Linked DNA regions of Homo sapiens: regions 2, 3 and 4 are each linked to region 1. Evidence: promoter capture Hi-C in human tissues and cell types (Jung and others, 2019). All regions are on one chromosome and are shown on one strand. The core of a region is centred on a gene start or on the middle of the fragment in contact, and the rest is flanking DNA. Distances in the headings are between cores, read along the strand shown.

What was found. Contacts are between HindIII fragments. The study calls those that stand out against the background at their distance.
Region 2: a fragment that was not itself captured here is called in contact with the fragment with the promoter of TSNARE1 in region 1 in 4 of the 25 tissues and cell types used here (H1 embryonic stem cells, IMR-90 fibroblasts, dorsolateral prefrontal cortex and 1 more).
Region 3: a contact is called between a fragment that was not itself captured here and the fragment with the promoter of TSNARE1 in region 1, in 4 of the 25 tissues and cell types used here (IMR-90 fibroblasts, bladder, dorsolateral prefrontal cortex and 1 more).
Region 4: a fragment that was not itself captured here is called in contact with the fragment with the promoter of TSNARE1 in region 1 in 4 of the 25 tissues and cell types used here (H1 embryonic stem cells, lymphoblastoid cells, mesendoderm cells and 1 more).

Annotation. Positions count from the first base shown.
Region 1 is chr8:142,401,601-142,405,313 of GRCh38, reverse strand. It overlaps TSNARE1 (t-SNARE domain containing 1), which reads left to right and starts at 2,132. Exons shown (of 14, transcript NM_145003.5): 1 at 2,132-2,210. RefSeq lists silencers at 1,234-1,283, 1,724-2,293, 2,434-2,573 and an enhancer at 1,227-2,002. The HindIII fragment of the contact is 11,624 bases long and covers 1-3,713 here.
Region 2 is chr8:141,898,949-141,902,661 of GRCh38, reverse strand. No RefSeq gene overlaps it. Among named protein-coding and RNA genes, the nearest start is that of MIR1302-7, 110 kb to the right of the region's middle. The HindIII fragment of the contact is 8,163 bases long and covers 1-3,713 here.
Region 3 is chr8:141,950,743-141,954,455 of GRCh38, reverse strand. No RefSeq gene overlaps it. Among named protein-coding and RNA genes, the nearest start is that of MIR1302-7, 170 kb to the right of the region's middle. The HindIII fragment of the contact is 4,956 bases long and covers 1-3,713 here.
Region 4 is chr8:142,132,980-142,136,692 of GRCh38, reverse strand. No RefSeq gene overlaps it. Among named protein-coding and RNA genes, the nearest start is that of MIR4472-1, 42 kb to the left of the region's middle. RefSeq lists an enhancer at 3,140-3,701. The HindIII fragment of the contact is 9,774 bases long and covers 1-3,713 here.

The DNA of each region.
Region 1 (3,713 bases), core at 883-3,382:
CAGAGCTGCCCGAGGTCATGTGATGACCTCTTCCAGGGAGGGGCAGAGATGAGGGAAGGGAGGGGAGCCCCGGCCCTAGGCCCAGGCAGCTATTGGCTATTTCCCTCATCCCTTCCTGAGGACCCCTTAGCATCCTCCTCCCCCTCCCCATCGGCTCAGCCTGAGGGAGTGGGCTCCTGGCTCTTCCACGGAGAGGTTTACCTTCCCTGACTTGCTGTGGGGCACTCAGGCGGGCTCATCCCAGATTTCGGAGGAGCCAACAGGTACGGAGCCCCTCCTCTGGTGGTTCCTACCCACGCTAGACCATTCCCCCTGCAGTGTCCAGGCACAGAAACAGCCCCATATACGCCTTGTATGGTCAAGAAAGCGGCTCCTGGAGGTGGTCTGCCCTGGGAGGAAAGGGCTTCACTTTCCCCTCCTTTGCACACCTGAACACGGAGCTGTCAGAGGAGGCTGAGTGAGGTGGCGGCCAGACAGACAGCGCCAGCCACGGAAGGGGAGGTGGGCACCGTGCCAGGCACCCGGCATCCTCAGTCCAGACTGACAGCTCTCAGACAGGCATTGGTCCTGGCGAACCTTCCCCTTCAAGTGGAAGCTGGGGGGTCAGCAGTCATGGGCATCCTCCCTGGTTAGGAGCCGGCTTCCCTGCACTCTAGCTGTCCTAGCCGAAGAGTGAAGCCCTGTCCAAATCATGGCGAGGCTGCAAGACAGGCACACACTACTGCCTCCTGGGAGCCCAGGGGAGACTGAAATACACCAAGGCAAGGAGCGTGGGTGGGCCCAGGACAGGCCGGCCTGAGCACCAGCCCAGGAATGCTGGTGGGCATGTGCCCCTCTTCCCTCCCACCCATGTGTGCACACATTTGTGCCATATACTACCGTTCCCATGTTTGCGCCTGGGCACACACTTGTGCCAGCATACACACACTTGTGCACTTGCACCTGGTGTCCAGGAACACTCCCTCAGCTCACAGACGTGCGCTGTGTGCACACAGTACCACGCAGTGTCCACGAGCACACTTTTGTGTTCGTGTTCACAGAACCCGTGTGCGCACACATGCACAGTCCTGGGCTGCAGAGAACCCCAGCCAGCGGGGCGGTGGGGGAAGGGGAGGGCACGCCTCCTTCCCAGGAGCTCAGCAAGGCTGTCCGCGGGAGCCCAGGGCTGCCCGCAGGGCTTTGGCGTAGGCCTCGCAAGCACAGCAAGCATCACAGAGTGAGGGCGGCGGGAGAACCTCCGCTTGCCGGAGAAGGTGCAGCGGACTCATCACTCTTGCTCTCCTGCCTTGGGTGTGACTCTTGGTTCACCTCTGGGGAAACAGGCTGAAAGGTGACCCTGGCGGCCCAAGGACACACACCCATTGTCCGCAGGTTCCTCCCAGGTGTCTTCTCCAGCAGGTCACCGGGAGAGCGAGGGGCTGGAGTCTTTCGGGAGCTCAGTGCCCGCAGGCAGAGCAGGGAAAGGGAGGCGCCCCAGGCCCCTGCGGAAGGAGGTCCCAGGAGGGTCTCCGCAAGGGGCTCCCTACTCTGCACTTCAGCTCCTCCAGGGAGGGGCTGCGACCTCGGGCAAAGGTCCCTCAGATGTCTTGAGACTCAGTTTCCTCGTTGGTGACACTGGGAGTCCGGAGTCCCCGCGGGGCCTGCCAGCCCCCGGCCGAGCACGGCCCCACGCGGAGCCCGTGCAGCCTGACTTGGGGCCCAACGCCCGTCCCCGCAGCGCGAGACGCGCAGGTGCCCGGCCCTGCCCTGGCCGAGACCCGCCGCCTGCGCAGCCCCGCAGAAGCTCCAGCTTTGGCCCGTGTGAGGTCCGGGCTCGGCCTGGGCTGGGCGGAGCCCGCTCCCGAAGCGCCTCAGCGCCGGGCCGCCGCCCTCCACGTGACCTCCACCTTCGCCGTCATCCCCATATGCAAAACGGGGAAACGGGGAAACGGAGGCCCACCACCAGGCAAGTGAGGACAGCCGACTCGCGCGCGCACCCGCAGAGGCCTCTTGGCCCAGCCGACCGCCGTCCGCGCCGCTTCCGGCTCCGCGCCGGGGCCTCTGGGGCGGGTAGTCCCCGCGCGCGTCCGGGACCGGCGGCCATTGGCTGGTGCGGGAGGGGGCGCGCACGCCGGCGGCGGGAGGGGCCGTCACGTGATGTTTGGGTGCCCGCCCCGCCCGCCTCGCCCGCCGTGAGCGCCCGGAGCGGTCCGCGAGCCACCGAGGCCCAGGTGAGGCGGCGGCGGTGGGGCTGGGGCCTGGCCGGGGCCGGGCGTGGGGCGGCGAGGGCGAGGCGGCCGGGGACCAGCGCGGGGCCCGGAGCCCGGCGGGGGCCGCGGCGTGGCGTGGTATGGGGCTTGCGGGAGGCCGGGCGGGGGGCGGGGCCGCGCCGGTGGGGAGGGGAGGGGGCGGGACCGTGCCGGGGGTGGACCCCAGGGGCGCCAGGGACCCTGAGCCGCAGCCCCGCGAGAGCGCCGCATTTCGGGGACCGGCCCGCGGGCACATGAGCCCCTCGGCGGGTCCTCGCGCGCTGTTCAGACCCCAGGTCGGTGGGCTCTGGGCCGGGCAGCCGGTGCCTGCGCCTGGAGGTCAGTGCCGTCCCGGGGAGCGCCCCAGCGCCTACTTGCTGGGTGCAAGGGTTGGTGCCCTGCAGCTCAACGAGCGGAGCCCGCCTTCGAGCCTGAGCTGGGGACCCCGTTCCTGTGTGCTTGCCTCTCCATGCCTTTCTGTCCCTTCTCCAAGTTGTAAGAAGGTGCTTCCTGGGTACTGGGGCCTGCGACATCCCCACCAGGGACTTTCAGGTGATGTTGATCTGTGCTGCCCCCGCAGAAACTCTCCAGGGACCTCGTGTTTGTTGCCTCATGGCGCACTCCTCCTGCTCTGGAAGCTCTGCCATGTCCAGTGTGGTAGCCCCTAGGCATGTGTGGCTGTTTACATTGTCCTTAACGTGAAGGATTCAGGTCCTCCGTGCCAGTGGTCACATGTCCGACACTCAGTAGCCACACGTGTCTGGTGGCGGCTGTGTGGGGCAGCGCGGGTAGGGAACACTGCTTATCACAGGAAGTTCTGTGAGCGGTGTGGTGCGGCTCAAAATGGGCCTCGCGCGTGCTGCTCCGCCGGTGCTTCTCCGCCCCTCATCCTGCCAGGTGCCTTTCCAGCCACACCTGGCGCCCTTTCTTTCCTCTGCTGCACACTTGCCTCTTCTTTTAGTTCCTGGCTCGCTCCTGGCTTGGGGGCAGCTCCGCTTCCGGTATGTCTGAGCTCACCTTTCTGACCGCTCTCCCTACAGTATTTCTTGTTTGTCATTGTCACTCATCTGCTTGTTTTCTGTTTTATCTTTAGTGCCTGTGAGACAGGGGTGGGGATTGTTGCTTAGGATACTCCCAGTGTGGACACAGTATTGAGTTGAAAGAAAGCTGAAGTTTGTTAGTACTGGAGTGCTTCCCCCGACTGAACCGCTGCTTTCATACCGTTCGACCCCATACATCACAGGACCGCAGCAGAAATCTGGTAGAACAAATGTTTGGACACAGCAGCACAGGCCGTGAATGCAGGTGGCTGTGGGAGGCTGGCAAATCCAAGACGACTTCCTGGAGGAGGTTGAGTTTTGGCTGGGTCACCTCTGTTTCTCTCCTCCTCTGCTGGCCTGGCCCCATGAACATCTGGCAGCCTCTGGCTGCTCTGACTCTATCCAGGAACCTTCCCTGGACACTTCCCCTGAGTCTGGCCTTCTG
Region 2 (3,713 bases), core at 421-2,920, 500 kb after region 1:
TCCCCGAGTGCAGCACTGGCTTCTCGGTTGGCAGAGGTGGTGGCTGGTTGGGGAGCTTTCCATCTGAGGGCCCAGGAAGAGAATTCTGTCTGCCGCCTGTGGGCAGAGTGACTTTGCACACGCCACCTGTTTGATTGTCAGCGTCCACCCCGTTCAGGGTTTGGCTAGGGGTGGATACAATGCTAGATGGGCAGTGCCTGGCGCATAGCAGGTTTATAACAACTGTGGGGTTTCTGGGCTGTTCCCGGCACTCAAGCCTGGTGGGATTTCTGTTGTTGCAAAAAAAATCAAGTTTAACAGTGATGCTTGAGAAATGATAGGCCAAGAAAAACTTCAGTTCCTCAACTGCAGGATATGTGTGGCCTTTCATACTATACATGCGTCGTGAACAACTAGGCCATACTGTAGGCCCTTCCCAGCTGCCCTACAGATGGAAGGGGATGCTGCTTCTCCACACTGAGCACATCAGGAGACACGAGCAGGCACACACCCATACACTCACATGCTGACACACTCGCACTCACACATTGCACACTCACAGAGATACACACATCAACATGCTCACCCACACACACAAAACATGCTCTCACACACACAGTCTCACACACACTCTCCCTTGCTGACACACACACCACACACTCACACATACACATACACCAACATGCTCACACACACACAAAACATGCTGTCACACACATAGCCACACATGCACTCTCTCATCCTGAAACACCCCACACACACTCACTCACCCATGCTGACACTCACATGCTGACACATTCTTCACACGTACACACCACACACTCTCTCACACACGCATTCACATGTACACATACTGTGTTAGGGTTCTCTAGAGGGACAGAACTAATAGGATAGATGTATATAAAGGGAACCTCAAAAGCAGGGAAGGAGACGGTGCACTTCAGTCTGTGGCCGAAGGCCCCAGAGCCCCTGGCAAACCACTCCTTTGGCGACACCCTCACAGACACACCCAGCAACAATACTTCGCATCCTTCAATCCAATCAAGTTTACACTTAGTATTAACCATCATAGATACCAACATGCTCACAACACACTGTCTCCCACACACCACACACACTCACAGACACCACACTGTCTCCCACACACTCACACACACCAACATGCTCACATACATGCACAGCACACTGTCTGCCACACACACTCACACAAAACAGTCTCACACACACACACCACACTGTCTCATACACACAACACACTGTCTCACACATACTCACACAAACACACACCATGCTCACATACATTCACAATACACTGTCTCCCACACACACTCACACAAAACACACTCTCACACACACACCACACTGTCTCATACACACAACACACTGTCTCACACATACTTACACAAATGCACACCAACATGCTCACATACATTCACGACACACTGTCTCCCACACACACTCACACACAACACACTGTCTCCCACACACTCACACCAACATGCTCAAAACACAGTCTTCCACACACACACACACCAACATGCCCACAACACAGTCTCCCACACACACTCACACCAAGTTCAAATCACACACACACTATCTCCTACACACTTACACAAAACACACTGTCTCCCACACACTCACACACACCAACATGCTCACATACATTTATGACACGCTGTCTCACACGCACACACAAACACACTGTCTCCCACACACTTACACATACACAGCAACATGCTCATGCACACACAAAACATACTCTCACACACTGACACACACATCACACCACACATTCTCCCACACACACACTCACACAGTCACACACACACATTCTGTCACACACCACACACTCTCCCACACACTCACACATAGACACACTGTCACATGTATGCTCTCCACACACTCACACAGACACACAAAGGCATGCGAGCACACAGTTGCGGGAGTGAGCGTGCAAACCTTGTAGCCCCGTGTGATGGTGTTAGGAGAAAGGGCCTGAGGTCCTGGGGACGGAGCCCTTGTCAGTGGGCTGAGTGTCCTTAGAGGAGGCCAGAGCTTCCCTCCCCCTCCCCTCATATGAGGACACAGCCTGAAGGCGCCGTCTGTGAACCGGGAACATCAGCCCTCCCCAGACACGGAACCCGCCCTGGTCTTGGGCGTCCGGGCTGCAGAGCCGTGGGAATGCAGGCCGGGTTTTTGGATCCCACCCAGTCCGTGGCACATGGCTAGAGCAGTCGGATGGACTGAGACCCCGTCCCCCAAGATCCATACCCCGTTACCGCTCAAGGTCTCATCCAGGGGCAACACCGGCCACCCCACACTTTTCGTTCCCCTTGTCCTTTTCTGTCTCTCGGGATGATCACAAAGATGAGTGACAAGCGTTTTGCTTTTCATTTCCAAGAACTGGTGAAACGTAAACAGGCGGCACAACTGCCAAGGCGCCTGTCCCCGGTCGGTTCGTCTGTAATTAAAACTCGCTCAGTGCAGCCGCCTCCTCCCCGAAACTTTTACAAATCTCCTGCGTGCTAATGAGGATACCGGCTAATTACTTGCCAGATGATTAAGAAATCATACTGGGACAATTGATGGGTCTCTGCAGGGAGCCGTCAGTTGCTTCTCCGGCCTCTCATCCTGCTCACAGTTTCCCTTCAAGAGGATGGCACTGACATCCCCCCAGGAAGGCTCAGGACCCAGCCGCAGGGCGGGCACAGCCTCTGCTGCAGGGATGCAGTGCGAGCTTCAGTATGCACCGGGTTCATCCCCCAACGCCTGTGGAAACGCATGGGCCCCCCGCTCCTGGAGGATCCATGGTGCCTTCGCTGGACAATATCACCTTGGCTTCTCTCATTTCCAGCAAGTTCCAGAGCTGGGACGGGGCCCTGGCGATGTGCTTTAGCTCTTTCTTTGGGCCTGGCTTCCTTGATGGACAGCAGCTGGCCCGATCACTAGCTGCTGCTGTCTGGGAGACAAGGCCAGGTGGTTGGAGGGGCTGGCAGGGAACCAAGTTCAATTCACAAGGGTTGTGTGCAGGAGGCTCAGGCAATGGGATGGAGGCTCAGGGTGGAGACACTAAGAAGGAGTCAGAGAAAGAGCACAGTGCTGTGGAGGGTGGCTGTCCAGACCTGCCCAGGATGCCAGCAGGTGAGGCTGGGCTGCACCCTGAGCCACCCAGGGCAGGGGAAGGTGGCCGCAGGGGGTCCCGGCCCGGGAGGGTAGAGAGATAGAGGTCATAGACTGAAGACATTTAATGAAGTATGACCCGGCAGAGTTCACTCGGGTTTGCCCACATCAAAGAGGAGGAACGAGAGGCTCTCTCTGCTACACACTAGGTGCATTGGACCTTGCCCCCAAGCTTGATCCCTGGAGAGTCCCCATTCCCAGGCAGCACAGCTCAAATCCTGTGTCCTGGGGGTGAGCCTTCCTTATCAGGAAGGCTCTAGAAGGATGTCCTTGCTCCTTGCTCTTCTGAGCAACCCTGGAACTTGGGCTTTCCTGGACCACAATCTTTGGGAGGATGGTCCTGGCCCCAACCCACTCAGTAAGCCTGTGACTGAAGGAGTCCCATGGGCCACCCTGACTCCAGGGAAAAGCCCCAGTGGAGCTCAAACTGCACGTCAGTGGCACTCACGGGAAGCGTCATTGGAGTCTTGTGAGATGCTTGGGCTCTGGGAAAACGCAAGTGATCTTTGTAGGAAAATTAAAAGCACACACACACATGTGTACACACATGCACA
Region 3 (3,713 bases), core at 678-3,177, 450 kb after region 1:
GCACATCTATGTGCATGTGATTTTGCATGTGCATATGTGCATGTGCAGGTGTACGTGTGTGTGCATTTGCACATATGTGCACGTGTATGTTTATGTGCGTGTGTGCATGTGTGTATGTGCATTTGCATGTGCATGTGTGTCTGCATGTGCATGTGCATGTGGATGTGGATGTACGTGTGCATGTGAGTGTGTGTGCACATGCATGTGTATATGTGTGTGCATGTGTATATGTATGTGCATTTGCATGTGTGTGCATGTGTATGTGCCTGTGTAAGTGTGTGTGCATTTGCACATATGTGCATGTGTATGTTTATGTCCATTTGTGCATGTTTGTGTGTATGTGTATCTGCATGTGCATGTGTATCTGCATGTACATGTGTATATGTATGTGTTGTACATGTGCATGTGAGTGTGCATGTGAGGAGTGTGCATGCGAGGAGTGTGCATGTGAGTGTGCATGTGTATATGTATGTGCATTTGCATGTGCGTGTGCATGTGTATGTGCCTGTGCACGGCAGAGTGAGCCAAGAATTTGAGGGAAGTGTACAGATTCAGGGAATCATCCTATGCAACTTCCTCAATCCAGCATTTTCTTCTTCAATTTCCAGCCCCGCTGGAAGTCCTAAACATGGATTCCTGATTCCCCAGCCCGGTGAGACTGCTGCTTTCTTGTCCTCTAATCTTCTTGGGCCCTGCAGACGGGAAATTCCCTCAGGAGAATAGCCAGATGCACATAAAACTTACCCAGATTAAACCCCTTATCTCAGGAGCTGTGTCTCTCCTCCAGATTCTGCCTGTTTAGTCACTCTCCAGTGCCTCCCAACAGTTATTTTGATGTCTTACCCAGAGCTTATACATGCAGAGATTGGACATGTTGCAGGTTTGGTTCCAGACCACCACAATACAGTAAATATCACAATAAAATGAGTCACAGTTTTTTTGGTTTCTCTGTACATATAAAAGTTATATTTAGACCATCCTTGAGTCTACTAAGCGTGCAATAGCATTATGTCTAAAAATGTACATACTTTAATTTAAAAATACTTGATTGCTAAAAATGCTGATGATCCTCTGAGCCTTCAGGGAGTCATCATATTTTTGCTGGTGGAGGATCTTGCCTGGGTGATGTTGGCTGCTGATGGATCAGGGTGGAGGTTGCTGAACACTGAAGTGGCTGTGTCAGTTTCTTAAAATAAGACAATAGTAAAGCTGGCTGCATCAATCAACTCTTTCTTTCACAAAAGCTTTCCCAGTAGCATGAGGTAGCAATTGACCCATGGTAGAACTTCTTTCAAAATTGGAGCCAACCTTCTCAAACCCAGCCACTGCTTTCTCAACAAAGCGTATGGAATATTATAAATCCTTTGTTGTGATTTCAACAATGTCCACAGCATCTTCACCAGGGGTAGATTCCATCTCAGGAAACCACTTTCTTTGCTCATCCATAAGAAGCAGCTCGTCATCTGTTCAGATTTGATCATGAGATTGCAGGAATTCAGTCACATCTTCAGACTCCACTTCTAATTCTAGTTTTCTTGCTATTTCCACCATATCTACAGTTCCTTCCTCCACTGAAGTCTGAAATCCCTCAAAGGGTTGGAATCAACTTCTTCCAAACTATTAATATTGACATCTTGGCCTCCTTCCATGAATGACAAATGTTCTTCATGACAGAAATCTATCTGTGGCATCTGTAGTATTACAAAATGTATTTGTTAAATAAGAAGAAAGTTGAGATGACTCCTTGATCCAGGGCTGTAGAAGGGATGTTGTCCTAACAAGCATAAAAATAGCAAAACAACGTTCATCTCCTCGTACATCTCCATCAGACCTTTTTTTTTTTTTTTTTTTGGACAGAGTCTCACTCTGTCTCCCAGGCTGGAGTGCAGTGGCATGATCTTATCTCACTGCAACCTCTGCCTCCCAGGTTCAAGCAATTCTTGTGCCTCAGCCTCCCGAGTAGCTAGAATTAATTACAGGCATGTGCCACCATGCCTGGCTGATTTTTGTATTTTTAGTAGAGGTCGGGTTTCACCAAGTTGGTCAGGCTGGTCTTGAACTCCTGACCTCAGGTGATCCACCTACCTGGGCCTCCCAAAGTTCTGGGATTACAGGCATGAGCCACCATGCCCGGCCTCCATCAGAGCTCTTGAGTGACCAGGTGAACTGTCACATTAGTATTTGGAAAGTAATCTTTTCTTCTTTTTTTTTTTTTTCTGGGCAATAAGTCTTAACATTAGGCTTAAAATATTCAGTAAACCATGCTGTAAACAGGTTTGTCATTCAAATGTTGTCATTCAGCCTTGTTGTTCCATGTCTAGAGCACAGGCAGAGTGGATTTAGCATCATTCTTAAGGGCCCTAGGATTTGCATAATGGGAAATGAGCATTGGCTTCAGTTTAAAGTCACCAGCTGCATTAGCCCCTCACAAGGGAGTCAGCCTGTCCTCTGAAGCTTTGAAGCCAGGCATTGACTTCTCCCCTCTAGCTGTGAAAGTCCTAGATGGCATCTTCTTCTAGTAGAAGGCTGTTACATCTACTCTGAAAATATGTTGTTTATTGTAGCCACCTTCATGTTTATTGTAGCCACCTTCCTCAATGATCTTAGCTAGGTCTAACGGACGTCTTACTGCAGCCTCTCCACAAGCGCTTGCTGCTTCGTCTTGCACTTTTGTGTTACAGAGTCAGCCTCTTTCCTTAAACCTCATGAATCAACGTCTGCTAGCTTCAGGCTTCTCTTCTGCAGCTTCCTAACCTCTCTCAGCTTTCACAGAATTGAAGAGAGCTAGGGCCTTGCTCTGGACTAGGTTTTGGCTTAAGGGAATGTTGTGGCTGGTTTGATCTTCTGTCCAGACCACTCAAACTTCCACCATCTCAGAAAGAAGGCTGTTTCACTTTCTTATCATTTGCGTGTTTTCTGGAGCCGCACCTTTAATTTCCTTCAAGAGGTTTTTCTTTACATTCACAACGTGGCTGTTTGGCCCAAGAAGTGCAGCTTTTGGCCTATCTCAGCTTTCAACCTGCTTTCTCACTAAGCTGAAGCATTTCTAGCTTTTGATTGGAAGTGAGAGAAGTGTGACTCTTCCTTTCATCTGAACATGAGGCCATGGCAAGGTTATTAATTAGTCTAATTTCAATATTGTTGTGTCTGAGGGAACACAGAGGCCCTAGGAGAGGGAGAGAGATGGGGAGACGACTAGGAGAGCAGTCAGGAGACACACAACATTTATTGGTCAAGGTCATAGTCTTTCATGGGCACAATTCATGGTGCCCCTAAACAATTGCAATAGTAACATCAAAGATCACTGTTCACAGATCACCATAAAAGGCATAATTTAAATGTTCGAAATATTGCAAGAATTACCAAAACCTAAGAATTACAGAAATAACACAGAGACCTGAAGCGAACCCATGCTCTTGGGAAAATGGCACAGACTTGCTCAGCGCAGGGTTGCCACAAACCTTCCAGCTTTGAAAATCGTAGTATCTGGCAAGTGCAATCAAATGGGGTTCTCCTGTGATGATTTCTGGTGGGAAGGTTCGTCCAATGTAAGCCCCTTCCCATTTGGCAAAGCTGTGATGTTCTCATGCATTCTTCTTTCGCATATGTGTGAATCCTACTGTTTTTCATTATTATCCACATATTTGCCCTCTTCGTTCTTCTCATTGCCCTTCCCAATTACCCTGCTTACATTGCAGATAGTTTTCTTCTGA
Region 4 (3,713 bases), core at 526-3,025, 270 kb after region 1:
GGCTCTGTGTGTTACCCGGCCACTTCATGAAGACTGAAACCTTGGGGACTGGGGCCATCCGGGGCTTTGGGGGATACAGACAGCAACACAGCCCGTGGCGAGCTTCGCCTTGGAGGTTGGGGATAGGTGAGGGGCTGTCCCCGGACTGGTGGAACAAAGCCTCGGGGTGAAGGCACCCACAGAGGATGGGGTCCTTGGGTTGAGCCCTTCTGAATTTTGGAAGGACACTGACTGGTGGGAGAGTGAGCAAAGTGCATTCAGGAAGCGAGTCCTGGTGATGTATCCACTCACGTGTTCAGTTATTCACACAGTCAATCAGTCCTTTCACGGTGAGCAAATCGTCGTGGCCCTGGCGAGATGCGACGAGTGCTTCCCTGCTCTTCAAGTGGGAGATGCGGAAGCGGCGCTGGGAAGAGAGCACGGCCTGGCTTCGGAGCTTAGGTTCCGGAGGAGCGGCTGGGTGGATGGAGTGCTGAGGACAGTCGGGCAAGGCCACAGGTGGAAAGCGCCAGCGGGGCGGGGCCCTCCTCAGATGGGTAGCGAGCGGGACACGGCTTTCTGCGGAGGGCACCTGGGCTGAGCGCTGAGTGACAGGAAGTGAGCCGTGCAGAGGTCTGGGGAGAAGGGCTCCAGGAAGCCAGGGCAGCACATGCCAAGGCCCTGGGGCAGGAGGCCCTTGTGTTCATTCAGGACAAGGAGGGAACAGGGCCTAGGTGTGAAAACATCTGTGACGTGGGGGCTGTGGCTGGCCAAGTCCCGGGCCTGGGACCTCGTCATTGACATACAGTCCAGGGCGGGTAGTGCTCACGGGGCCATGGGAGGGCAAGGCAGAGGTGGCCGTGTCCCGTACCGGGGTGGTGCTGGACCAAGCCCAGGATCTGCCATGGGCGCCAAAGGCCTCTCTGGCCAGGCAGCAAGGGCGTCTCAGGGAGGGGCAGGAGGGCCGGCACCCCAGGCCTGAGTGGGAGTGGGGCTCTGGTCAGCGGGCCAGCCCCAGAGGGCCCCAGGTGAAGGCTGCTGTAGGTTTGGGGAGTACAGCAGTGCTGCTGGGACAGCAAAGGGGAGAAGAGGCCACAGGAGGGCCAGGACCCAGGGGAAGCAGGTTCTGATGACCGAGAGGAGGCACTGTCCTTCAGGAGGTCGGGCCACGGGAGGCCGGCCAGCCCTGTGCAGGGGTGGGGGCTGCCCAGTAGCCTTGTCTTTCTCTCCTCTCTCTGTCTCTTTCTCTCTGTCTCTCTCTTGCAGCCTTTGCGCATGGGCTGTTGCTTCTCCCTGATGTCAGGAAGGTGCCGTCCCTTTCCTCCAGGGCTTCCAGTGCCCCTGAGGTCGCCTTGCTGAGAGCGCCCAGGGTTCATGGGTGTGTGCGTGTAATGTGTGCATGTGTGTGTGTGTGTGTGTGTGTCTGCTGCTGGAGTGTGTGTGTGTGGTGTGTGCGTGTCTGTGTCTACTGCTAGAGTGTGTGTGTGTGGTGTGTGCGTGTCTGTGTCTGCTGCTACTTTGGAAGAGTCCACAGTCTGTGCTGCCTGCACAGTTCAAGCTCTAATTATCAGATATGGTTAATTACACAGAGCTGTCATCCATTTGTTTTTAAGGATCCAGAAACCTGGAGCCTTGGCCATGCTGAGCCCTGATCTGCTATCTGCATTGAAAGCGCTTGGGGACCTGTGATTTCTGGCTCACTTTGGCCAGAAAGGGTTAATTCTGGTGAATGCACAAGCTCTTGCCTAGTCATTCTGGGGCCTCCCAGCAGAGCCCGCTACATGGGGCCTCCTCCAGCTCCTCAGAGGCCCGGCCTCGGGGTTCCTGCGCTGGCTGTTCCCTCTGTGGAACGCTCTTCCCTCAGTGTTAAGGGTGAGACCCCAGCTGCCTGGTTGTGGAGTCGGGGCTTCAGATGGAAATCGAGCCCCAGAGCTGGGAGGAGGGGGAATGCCCCATCTAGGAACAGCCACACCTGGAGGTCCCCAATTCTAATAATGATAAATAACTTCTGTGATGTCACCCACAAATGGATGATGACAGATCGGAACTAAAGGTTTATTTTCCTGCTAAAGAGAGACACTGTCACCAAAGCAAGACGTCACAGGTGGCTGAACTGACATGGGAAAGCTGCAGTCCCTTGGGGTTAGAGAATTCCAGGTCCACGGCTCAGACCGGTTCTGTGCAGAGCCAAATGGCCCGTGCACGCGGGTCCTGGTGGCCTTGGGTCTCTTAGCCTGCACCACGGCTCTGACACAGCAGGTGAGCAGAGGGGGCACCCAGGGTGAGAAAGCTTAGAATACTCGCGGCTGGAAGCCACGCCCCACGCCATCCCGCCTTCAGATATGTCCAGTCTGACCACTTCCTCCCAGGCCTCTGTCCCCCCAGGCTGAGTCCCCAGCATACCTCTCCTGGACTGTGGCAGCAGCTTCTGTCTGGGCTCCTTGGCCATCACCTGTCCCCAGCAGCCAGCGTGCTCCAGCCAAGCATCAGGCCAGGGCTCTCCTGCTCCACCCTTGCCATGAGGGCCACCTTCCCTGGCTCCCTGGCTCACAGCCCCTTCCCATGACCCCGAACTTGGCCCCCACTGTTGACCCCTGGGTCCCTCCATATGGGCCTTAACCATACGGAGTCTACTCAGCCATGGCCCCTGCATTTTCTTCCCCAGCTCACGTGGCCAGTGCCTTCTCCACCTCCAATCCTCAAATGTACCCCAGCCCTCCCCAGCCCCCCAGCCCTCCCCAGCCCCCCAGCCCTCTGGGCAGCTCCCTGGCTGTTTTTTCCACACCAGGTGTCCCCTCTGACATATGAGGTGATTTCCCCACATGCTGTGTGTCCTGCACCATCTGACCCTCTGTGGGATGTCACCTGTTTTGGTCTGAGTGTCTGGAAGAGCGCCGTGTGCTACAGAAGTCCACATGTGTGGTCCAGAACAGAGCACCGCCACCTGCAAAGGGTAGACGTTTCCCGTTTCTAGAGAGGGAGGTCTGGAGTGAGTCTCTGAGGCCCCTGCAGGGACTGTTCTAAGTAGGTAGCTGCCAAAGCCACTCCCCTGCTCAAGAACCTTCTATGGCTCCCCTGGACTCACAGAATAAGGCCAGAGCTTTCTTCCCGGCTCAAGGCCCTTCCCGAGCCTTCAAAGGAACTGCTTAGGCTTGCCAAGCCTCAGCTCTCTCATCCATAAAATGGGGACCAACACCACCCACTATTTACTGCCCTGGCCCCACCTGAGCCCCGGCTCTCCAGCTGTCCCCACCCCCACCCGGGGTGCTCCTCAGACTGTCCTGCCGGACTGGCTGTGCCCTCCAAGCTGCAGCCGCAGACATTTCTGCAAACTCCATTCACTTCTCTGGCGTCTCCTGTATCCGTCTGTCTTTTCTGAGCCTCAGCTGGAGCGCTGTCTTTCAGAGGATGCTGCCTGGTTCTCCGGCCATCTGTGGGGCAGCTCTCTCCGCAGCTCTGCACCACGCCTGGGCCCCTCAGCCATTCTGTGCTAAGCCCGACCTCGGGGCACCACACGGGAACCCAGAGGAGCCAGGGTGATGCAGGGTCTGTCCTGACTCCAGGAGCCGAGAGTCCCGTGGATTCGGTCAGGCTGACATTCCTCACGGCTGCGTGCAGCGTGTCCTGGGAGCTTCACAGACATGAACTCACCGAATCCACACCTTGAGCCTCAGGCTGCCAGGCCTGGTGGACGCTGCCAGTCCGCATTTCACAGATGACAGAGCTGAGGCCCG